Regions from separate parts of the Homo sapiens genome. Here regions 2 and 3 are each linked to region 1. Evidence: promoter capture Hi-C in 16 types of primary human blood cells and fetal thymus (Javierre and others, 2016). All regions are on one chromosome and are shown on one strand. Each heading gives the region's core, a stretch centred on a gene start or on the middle of the fragment in contact. The rest is flanking DNA. Distances are from core to core; before and after follow the strand shown.

The links. Contacts are between HindIII fragments. The CHiCAGO score rates a contact against its expected background, and 5 or more counts as called.
Region 2: a fragment that was not itself captured here is called in contact with the fragment with the promoter of CHMP4A in region 1 in 1 of 17 cell types (erythroblasts); the score reaches 5.3 in erythroblasts.
Region 3: a fragment that was not itself captured here is called in contact with the fragment with the promoter of CHMP4A in region 1 in 1 of 17 cell types (non-activated CD4 T cells); the score reaches 5.5 in non-activated CD4 T cells.

Annotation. Positions count from the first base shown.
Region 1 is chr14:24,211,855-24,214,868 of GRCh38, reverse strand. It overlaps CHMP4A (charged multivesicular body protein 4A), which reads left to right and starts at 1,381. Exons shown (of 6, transcript NM_014169.5): 1 at 1,381-1,460. The coding sequence starts at 1,430. NEDD8-MDP1 (NEDD8-MDP1 readthrough) reads left to right here. Exons shown (of 7, transcript NM_001199823.3): 5 at 270-377; 6 at 474-559; 7 at 718-926. The coding sequence ends at 845. It overlaps MDP1 (magnesium dependent phosphatase 1), which reads left to right. Exons shown (of 6, transcript NM_138476.4): 4 at 270-377; 5 at 474-559; 6 at 718-926. The coding sequence ends at 845. RefSeq lists enhancers at 1-77, 1,232-1,526, 1,163-1,662, 1,090-1,898, 1,853-1,972. The HindIII fragment of the contact is 5,751 bases long and covers 689-3,014 here.
Region 2 is chr14:23,452,005-23,455,018 of GRCh38, reverse strand. No RefSeq gene overlaps it. Among named protein-coding and RNA genes, the nearest start is that of NGDN, 16 kb to the left of the region's middle. The HindIII fragment of the contact is 2,522 bases long and covers 301-2,822 here.
Region 3 is chr14:23,608,707-23,611,720 of GRCh38, reverse strand. No RefSeq gene overlaps it. Among named protein-coding and RNA genes, the nearest start is that of DHRS2, 26 kb to the left of the region's middle. The HindIII fragment of the contact is 2,476 bases long and covers 271-2,746 here.

The DNA.
Region 1 (3,014 bases), core at 132-2,631:
CGTGACCACAGTGAGCCGTGATTGGGTCGCTGCACTCCAGTCTGGGCAACAGAGCTAGACCCTGTCTCAAAACAAAAGCTAAAACATTGGCCCAGCACCAATTGTGTCAAATAGGAAGGCAATGGAGTTAAACAGAGGCTGAGGATGCCTGTCCATCCCGGAAAAACAGCAAGTTGATTTCCCTGGTTATACTTACTAACTTTGCTTAATAAGTTAACGTAGCCCTGGCCCTTCACTTTGCTAATCCCATCTTTTACACCGTTTTGCAGGACAAGTGAGATAGAAGGGGCCAACCAGCTACTGGAGCTCTTTGACCTCTTCAGGTACTTTGTTCATCGGGAAATCTATCCAGGCAGCAAGATCACACACTTTGAGAGGTATGCGGAGATAAGGGAGGAGCAGGGTGAGAAAGTATCAGAGAGGCCTGGGAAACCAAGATACTAGCTTGGTTACTCCTGCCCTGTCTTGAATAGGTTGCAGCAGAAGACTGGAATTCCTTTCTCCCAGATGATCTTCTTTGATGATGAGAGGCGGAATATTGTAGACGTCAGCAAACTGGGTACTGAGTGATGAGGAACAGCCATTTGGGGTCCCTAGGAGGGATTAGGTAGATACATACAGGTTGGATAGTTTGCCCTATAGGTGGCACTCACAAAGGTCAGAGTAATAATGGAGAACCCTGAAAGCTTAATGAAATGTGACTTCTTATCTTTCTAGGTGTTACCTGCATTCACATCCAGAATGGAATGAATCTTCAAACTCTAAGTCAAGGGTTAGAGACATTTGCGAAGGCCCAAACTGGGCCTTTGAGGTCCAGCCTTGAGGAGAGCCCATTTGAGGCCTAAACTGAAAGGAAATCAAGAAGGCATTTTCAGGTGCATTTGTAATTTATTAAAGTTCATCTGTGTGTGACAGAAGAGATTTTACCCACAGTGTGGGGAGTTTCTATTTTTCTAGCCTGTGAAATGGGGTTGGTTGTCCTGAGGTGCAGAGACCAGAATGTGAGACATTAGACTGCATCAGGTTTGCCATCTAAACTTAGGGCAACCCCAAGTGCTTGAACCTATACCACCCCACTTTCCTGAGCTCTGTAAAGAGCATGAAGTTTTCCCACTGACCCCATACACTGAGGTGCCATCACACTGCACATTTCCTTCCGGAGAACAAGCACGTACTCAGGTGGAGATAGAACTGTCTTTTTACTTAATAGAAAATGATGTGGCAGCTTTAAGAGGAGCGCGTCGGTCTGGGGCTGGTGGCTTGGGTCACGTGACACCGGTGGTCTCGTTTGCGCCTCTTGATGTCGCGGCGGCGCCCTGAGGACGGATTGGGCAAGGCTGGTCCCTGTGTGATGAGACATCACCCTCCCAGGAGCAAGGCGGAAGTCTGGAGGACGCTGAGGGGCGGAGGCGGGAGAGGCGAGCTCGCGATGAGTGGTCTCGGCAGGCTCTTCGGGAAGGGTGAGCCAGGGTGGGACTGGCCAGCCAGGAGGCGCTGGCTGGTGCAGGGGAAGAGGAGACCCCGGCGAGATTCGGCCGGACCGCTGCGCCGGGCAGGGGAAGAGAATCAGGAGACAGGCTGACTGGAAAACCCCGGCGGCCGATGGCGGAGCAAGGCTCATCGCCGGTGCCAAAAGGCACACCATGTCGGGGCGCCTTGTTCCCGTCCGCCGTCCTCCCCCACTCTCAGAGGGAAGAACTCAAGATCTGGGAGGGGACTTGAGTTGAGGGCGTGGCGATCGTGCTGACTCCCACTGTTCAGGCTTGAAGACGAGTTTCCTGCTGTCTTCAGCCATTTTCAAAACCTTGTTCTATAATACTTTGTGCTGGGCAAGAGGGATCTAAGGTGAAGAAGAAAGACTGCCTTCTTAGCCCGGCGCGGGGGCTCACGCCTGTACTCGCAACACTTTGGGAGGCCGACGTGGGTGGATCATGAGGTCAGGAGTTTGAGATCAGCCTGGCCAATATGGTGAAACCCCGTCTCTACTAAAAATATAAAAATTGGCCGGGCGCGGTGGCTCACGCCTGTAATCCCAGCACTTTGGGAGGCCGAGGTGGGTGGATCACCTGAGGTCAAGAGTTCGAGACCAGCCTGGACAACATGGTGAAACCTTGTCTCTACTAAAAATACAAAAAAAAAAAAAAAATTAGCTGGTTGTGGTGGCACGCGCCTGTAGTCCCAGCTACTGGGGGAGGCTGAGACAGGTGAATCGCTTGAACCCAGGAGGCGGAGGTTGTAGTGAGCCAAGATTGCACCAATGCACTCCAGCCTTGGTGACAGAGGGAGACTCCATTCTCAAAAAAAAAAAAAAAAATTAGGTGGGCATGATGGTGTGTGCCTGTAGTCCCAGCTACTCAGGGAGGCTGAGGCAGGAGAATCACTTGAACCCGGGAGACGGAGGTTGCAATGAGCTGAGATCATGCCACTGCACTCTGGCCTGGGCAACAGAGCGAGACTCTGTCTCAAAAAAAGAAGTCCTGGCGCGGTGGCTCATGCCTGTAATCAAAACACTTTGGGAGGCCGAGGCGGGCAGATCACCTGAGGTTGGGAGTTCGACACCAGCCTGACCAACATGGAGAAAGCCTGTCTGTACTAAAAACACAAAAAATTAGCCAGGCATGGTGGCACATGCCTGTGATCCCAGCTATTTGGGAGGCTGAGGCAGGAGAATTGCTTGAACCCAGGAGGCGGAGGTTGAGGTGAGCTGAGATCACGCCATTGCGTTCCAGCCTGGGCAACAAGACTGAAACTCTGCCTAAAGAAAAAAAAAGAAAGGCAGCTAGGAATAGTAAAAAGAATATTGGTTTTAGAACTCATACTGCCACATCTTGATTCCTGCACAATCTCTTATTAGTTGTGATTTTTAACATCTTTGTGGTTGTTTTCACATTTTTAAAGTGAAGAGATAGCACGTTCATTGTAGAGATTTGGGGATTAGCAATAACACAGTCAGGTCTCTAGCACATACTATGTATTCAATGATTGGTGGCTAATATTTTTCCTTCACAAAATTT
Region 2 (3,014 bases), core at 312-2,811, 760 kb after region 1:
TAACGTTTCCTTTTGATTCTTTCCTAAAGTTCTCATCTCTCTGCTTTACATTACCCATCTGTTCTTGAATATTATCCACTTTTTTTCCATTAGAGTCCTTAGCATATTAATCATAGTTAATTTAAATTTCCACTCCAATAATGTATTAATCATGTTTTTTAATTTTCTGTATTTTATGAGGTTTTGACATCTTAGGGGCCTGCTAATCCTGGAAAGACTGCCTCTTCCAGAGCTAACTAATTTCTAGAGGCAGTAAACAACTTGCCCATGAGCATCCAGCAAACCAACCAATCCAAAGCTTGTATCCCTAACCACCTCCTTTATCTAACTCTTGCACACCAAGCCAGTACTTCCCCTGCCCTAATTAATCCCAGGGCCAGAGACCAGACAACTAGAGATCACTGCTGTAACACAGAGCCTGCTGAAATTGTCCAGACTTGTCAAAGCTAAGCTATTTACCTTGCCCTGCCTTCCTTTCCTGTGGGAAACACAATAAAGGCTTGTGTCCATGCTTTTCTCTCTCTGTCTACCTCCTGACTGAACCGGATGCTTCTCCATCTGGCCCTGTGTGGCATGAGTTGTCCCCTCCCCTTAAGAACTGTAATAAGCTCTTCTTTCAAGGCAGTTGTCTCCATGTTTGTCATTTTACCATACTTGATTGAAACAAAATCTTCAGTACATTTTAAAACAGATAATACCAAAATCTCTGCCACATCTGAGTCTAGTTCTGATGCTGGCTATGTCTCTTTGGATTGTATTTTTTCTTGTCTTTTAGCACGCCTTGTAATTTTTTGCTGAAAGCAGACATGGTAATAGGAATTGAGGTAGACTGTGTGTGAAGTTTTATTTTTATTTTTATCTGACCAGGAGTTAGACTGTGTTTAGTTTGCTGCAGCAGTAGGTGTCAAAGATTTTAATTTCTTCTAAAGTCCTTGTGTTTGCCTCCTCTGTTGTCTTTGAGTTTCCTTAGAAACTCCTTCGTAAATAGAATCTAAGCCTTGCAGCCCTGTCAGCTATAATCCACTTTTACTATTCAGGAGTCCTGTTGATGTGGTAGCAAGATACTGGGTAGGAGAGCATTCTATAGTCCCATGATTGGAGCTCAGTATTTTAGTGGACCTGTGACTCTAGACTGTAACCTTCATAATTGCTTCTTAGGGTATTTTTTTGTTTTGTTTTGTTTTGTACCTCATATGTGAGATAAGAAGTCCAGAATGAATTGTTTCTTAGGGTATTTTTTTGTTTTGTTTTGTTTTTTACCTCATATGTGAGACAGGAAGTCCAGAATGTGATGGAGCTAGATAATTTCCCTTTCCCCAAGTAAAAGAAGACATCGGCAAAGGCTTTCCCCCTGCTGGATAGGCCTTAGTTGTGGAGAAAGCTCTGGTTTTATTTCTAAATGGTCACTTTACCCTCGCCCTGCCAAACATAAGGATATTTCTCTCCATTCTTCATCATGAGAACCTGGTGGGAGGTAAAACTCATGAAAGTGTGGGTTCTCCCCTTAGACTGGGGTCCCAGGAGTTTTTAACTCTCAAGCTAATTCACGCTCAGCCTCTGGCAATTCATCGAAGTTACCATTTAGGTGTTCCTGTCAGTTACTGGTTCCAGCACCTCCTGCTTCAGGTAAGCTGGCTTGTATTCTCCGTATTCACCCGTCTCTCCAGTTTTCAGGGTGATAGTTTGTCCTGTAGCCAAAATTCTCTGATAGAACTAAGAAAAGTTGTAGGTTTTCAGTTCAGCTTTCTTCTTGCTTTGAGAATGAGAGTGACCGACTTATAATCTCTTTACATGTTGGAGTGTTCACAATCAGAAGTGTTCCCACTAGATTCTATGTTAGTAACATGCCTTCGTTTTAAACTAAAACATTTTGTACATACTTATTTTTCAACTATAAAAATGTTATATTTATTAAATTAAAATAATAAGTATTTCAATTTAATTACCAATTATGACTCTATATAGGTATCACTATAACCATGCTGTCTATATCAAATATTCAAATAAACACATTATAATGTTAAATTAGTGTGAGAAAAACGCACTGGAGCAAATCAATCTATTGACAACAACTAGTTTGGTGATGTTTGTGTATACACTAGAAACAACACATATTCTTGATATGTTACTATAATACGACAATATCTTATGTTGATCGTTGAAGTAAAACAATCCTACCAAAACAACAAAGCTGTGTTTTACCGAAAGTATTTTACACTGCTTTAGTTTTTTAAGAGCTTTATTGCGGTATAATTTACATAGCATAAAATTCACCCCTTTTATACAATTCAATTATTTTTAAGGAAAATTTACATTTGTGCAAGCATCACCACAATCCAATTTAGAGCATTCCCAATGCTCCAAAGGGATCCCTTACACCCATTTGCAGTCCATTGCCATTTCCACCACCAGCTTCAGGCAGCCACTGCCTTCTGTCTTCATAGATTTTCCTTTTCTGGACATTTCATAGAAATGGAATCATAAAATATGTGGCCTTTTCATCTGGATTCTTTCATTTAGCATGTTTTTGAGGTTAATCCATGTTACATTAATAACATGTATCAGTACTCATTCCTTTTTATTGCTGAATAATATTCCATTGTATGGATGTACCACATTTTGTTTATCTGTTCACCTAATGATAAACATTGGGATTATTTCCACTTTTTGGATATTATGAATAATATCCAAGCGTTTATGAACAAACGCTTGTTTGAACTTGTTTATATAAGTCTTTGTGTGGATATATACTTTCTTTTCTATTGAGTAAATACCCAAAAGTGGATGGCTGAGTTATTTGGTACATGTATGTCAGTTAAGCTTTTAAGAAAAGTTCAAACTGTTTTCCAAAGTAGCTGTTGCATTTTACGTTCTCACCAGCAATGTTGGAGAGTTTTGGTTTCTCCACATCCTAGCCACAATTTATTATTGCCTTTCTTTTTTATTATAGTCACACTCATGGGTATGAAGTGCTATCTCATTGAGGTTTTAATTAGAATTTCTATAATGATTGA
Region 3 (3,014 bases), core at 259-2,758, 600 kb after region 1:
GAATCTGTGCTCTTAACCCTCATCCTTTATGACCTTCATGGGAGTGGGGTGCTTATTTGTATTGTTCTCCACCAAGTTTCCAGCACCTGTAATAGTGCCCGACAGAGGGGAAGCACCAATAAATATTTGTAGAATAAGCAAATGAATGTTGTATAACTGGTTTAAAGATAAAGCTTGCCTTTGAACCAGATTGGTCGGGCTCCAAAACCACACTCTCCAGAGTATGGGATTGTAGTATTTCAATTTTCAACTCAGAAATTCACTGAAGCTTGCCCTCTACTCTAAAGATGTCTACAGTCCTGTGGGGAAGGCATATTTAAGTAACTACAAGCCAGGTAGAAAAACTGCGGTGTCACAAGGAAAGGGCACACAAAGTGCCATGAGGGAGTGATAACTTTTAACTAGTAGCTCAAGGAAGGATTTGAGGTGAAAGTGGCATTTGCACTGGGTTTGGAAGACTCTGGACAGGCAGAGATGAGAAGGAGCATGTAACTGAAACTACAAGTTGTCTCCTAATGTCTGTTTCCTCTTCTTCCACAGTAATCATATTCCAAAATGTTAGCTGTGCAATTGACCACTGAGAATAAAGGCTATATTTCCCAGCTGCCCTTGCAGCCAGGCACGGCTACCTGACCATGTTCTGCATAAAAGGTTATAGAGAAGTCAGGGATGAAACTTCCATGAGGTGTTCTCAAGTGGAAGGAGCATGCCCACCTCCTTTCTTTGTCTCCCTCCTGCTGTCTAGAACATGACTCTGATGACTGGAGACAAAGCAGCTATCTTTGGCCTCAGAAGGCACATGTTGAGGATGTGGACTACAATGTTGAGGCAGTCTGATCACGAAGGCACGATATGAGGCCCGCTACAGTCTTGTTTAAGCCACTGTTACAAGTGTCTTAGGTTGGGTTACCACAGCAGATCCTAAGACAAGGCTTTATGTGCAAGTAGTTTATTAAACAGATGCTCCCAGCAGGGAGCAATGGCTCCTATCTATAATCCCAGAACTTTGGGAGACCAAGACAGGAGGATTGCTTGAGGCCAGAAGTTTCAGACCAGCCTGAGTAACATAGTGAGACCCCTGTCTCTACAAAAAATTTAAAAATTAGCTGATCAGGTCATGTGTGCCTGTAGTCCCAGCTACTCAGGAAGCTGAGGCAGGAAGTTCCTTTGAGCATAGTAGTTTGAGGTTACAGTGAGCTATGATTATGCCACTGCACTCCAGCCTTAGTGGCAAAGTGAGACCTTGTCTCAAAAATAAAAATTAAAAAAATGCTCCCAGGAGAAACCAGTAAGGGAGTGTGGAAAGTAAGACAGGGAAGGGAGGAGGACAAGCAAGGGAATGTTTCAGCAAAGCCCCAGCCTTAGCCTGGTCCCAAAGGTCAGTTCTGGAGTGTAAACTACACCTCACAGTTTGCCCAGATTTCAGACAATGGAACTAGGCTGTTACCTAGTTCAGCTAAAGGCTGCCCCTGCTTCTCTCGATGTGCAGAAGCTGTGGGAGATGATTAAACGGGTCACAGGGGCTCTGGTGCAACCTCAATGGGCCCCTTACACTGGGTTTTCTCTCACTCATAACTTAACCTAATCCTAAAAAGTACCAAAAACATTTCTGGCAGAGGGGAGAGTATAAATAAAGTGCACAGAACCTGAAGGAACAAGAGGCTATATGAAAGTATTGGAAAGGAAGAGGACAGGAAAGAAAGAAATAGGAAACAAATTTGGAAAACCAAACTGTAGTCACTGGGACTTGATATGGTTTGGCTGCGTCCCCACCCAAAACTCATCTTGAATTGTACCTCCCCACATCTCGCTTCTGCACTGCCCTAGCAGAGGCTCTCCATGAGGGCCCTGCCCCTGCAGCAAACTTCTGCCTGGACATCCAGGCATTTCCATACACAGCAGTCGGGGCCTGGAAATGTAGGGTTGAAGCCCCCACACAAAGTCCCCACTGGGGCACTGCCTAGTGGAGCACCATCCTCCAGACCCTAGAATGGTAGATCCACCAACAGCTTGCACCATGCACCTGGAAAAGCCGCAGACACTCAACACCAGCCCATAAAAGCAGCCGGGAGGGACTTTGTACCTTGCAAAACCGCAGGAGTAGAATGACATGGTTTGGCTATGTCCCCATACTGTTCTCATGATAGTGAATAAGTCTCACGAGATCTGATGTTTTTATAAGGGGCTTCCCCTTTTGCATGGCTCTCTATCTTGCCTGCCACCATGTAAGAAGTCCCTTTGCTCTTCCTTGGTCTTCTGCCATGACTGTGAGGCCTCCCCAGCCATATGGAACTGTGAGTCCATTAAACCTCTTTTTCTTTATAAATCACCCAGTCTTGGGTATGTTTTATCAGCAGCGTGAAAATGAACTAATACAGAACTGTATAAAATTTTGAATTTCTGGCCAATGCATAAACAAAGGGAAACCAAAAGGACTTTGAATCTGATGATTCAGAAGATTAATCTGGCAACTATGTGTGAGAGGAATTGGAATGAAACTTGTGTAGGGTAATACCCATTATGAGGTCATATCTATAATCCAGGCAAGAGGTAATGGTGGCACAACCCCAGGTGATGGTGCTGGGAAGGGAAAGTAGAGAATAGTTGCGAAGTCTTACAGAGAAAGATCTGGTCTTTCTAAATGCTTTGACACGAGAGAAAAGAGACAGAGAGGATCCAAACATGAAGCCAGGGACAATGGTGGCATTGCCAACAAAAATAGGTAACAGAGGAGAAGAAACAAGCTTGATAGAAAATATGAATTCTACCTATTGACATGGTGACTTTGAGATGAAGGGAAGCCTTCTAAATGGAGTTGTCAAGAAGGCAGTTAGAAATGCAAGACTGATAACAGAATTCAAGCATGGAGCCATGGATGTGTGCATTGTCTACAGAGATGTGATAGAAGCCATGACTGTGGATAGGATTACTAAGGGAGGGAGGGCAGAGACAGAAGAGGAAAAGGCCAGTATAAGATACTTGTAAGTTGTGCTGTTTGCCTGTTGCCTCTTGGG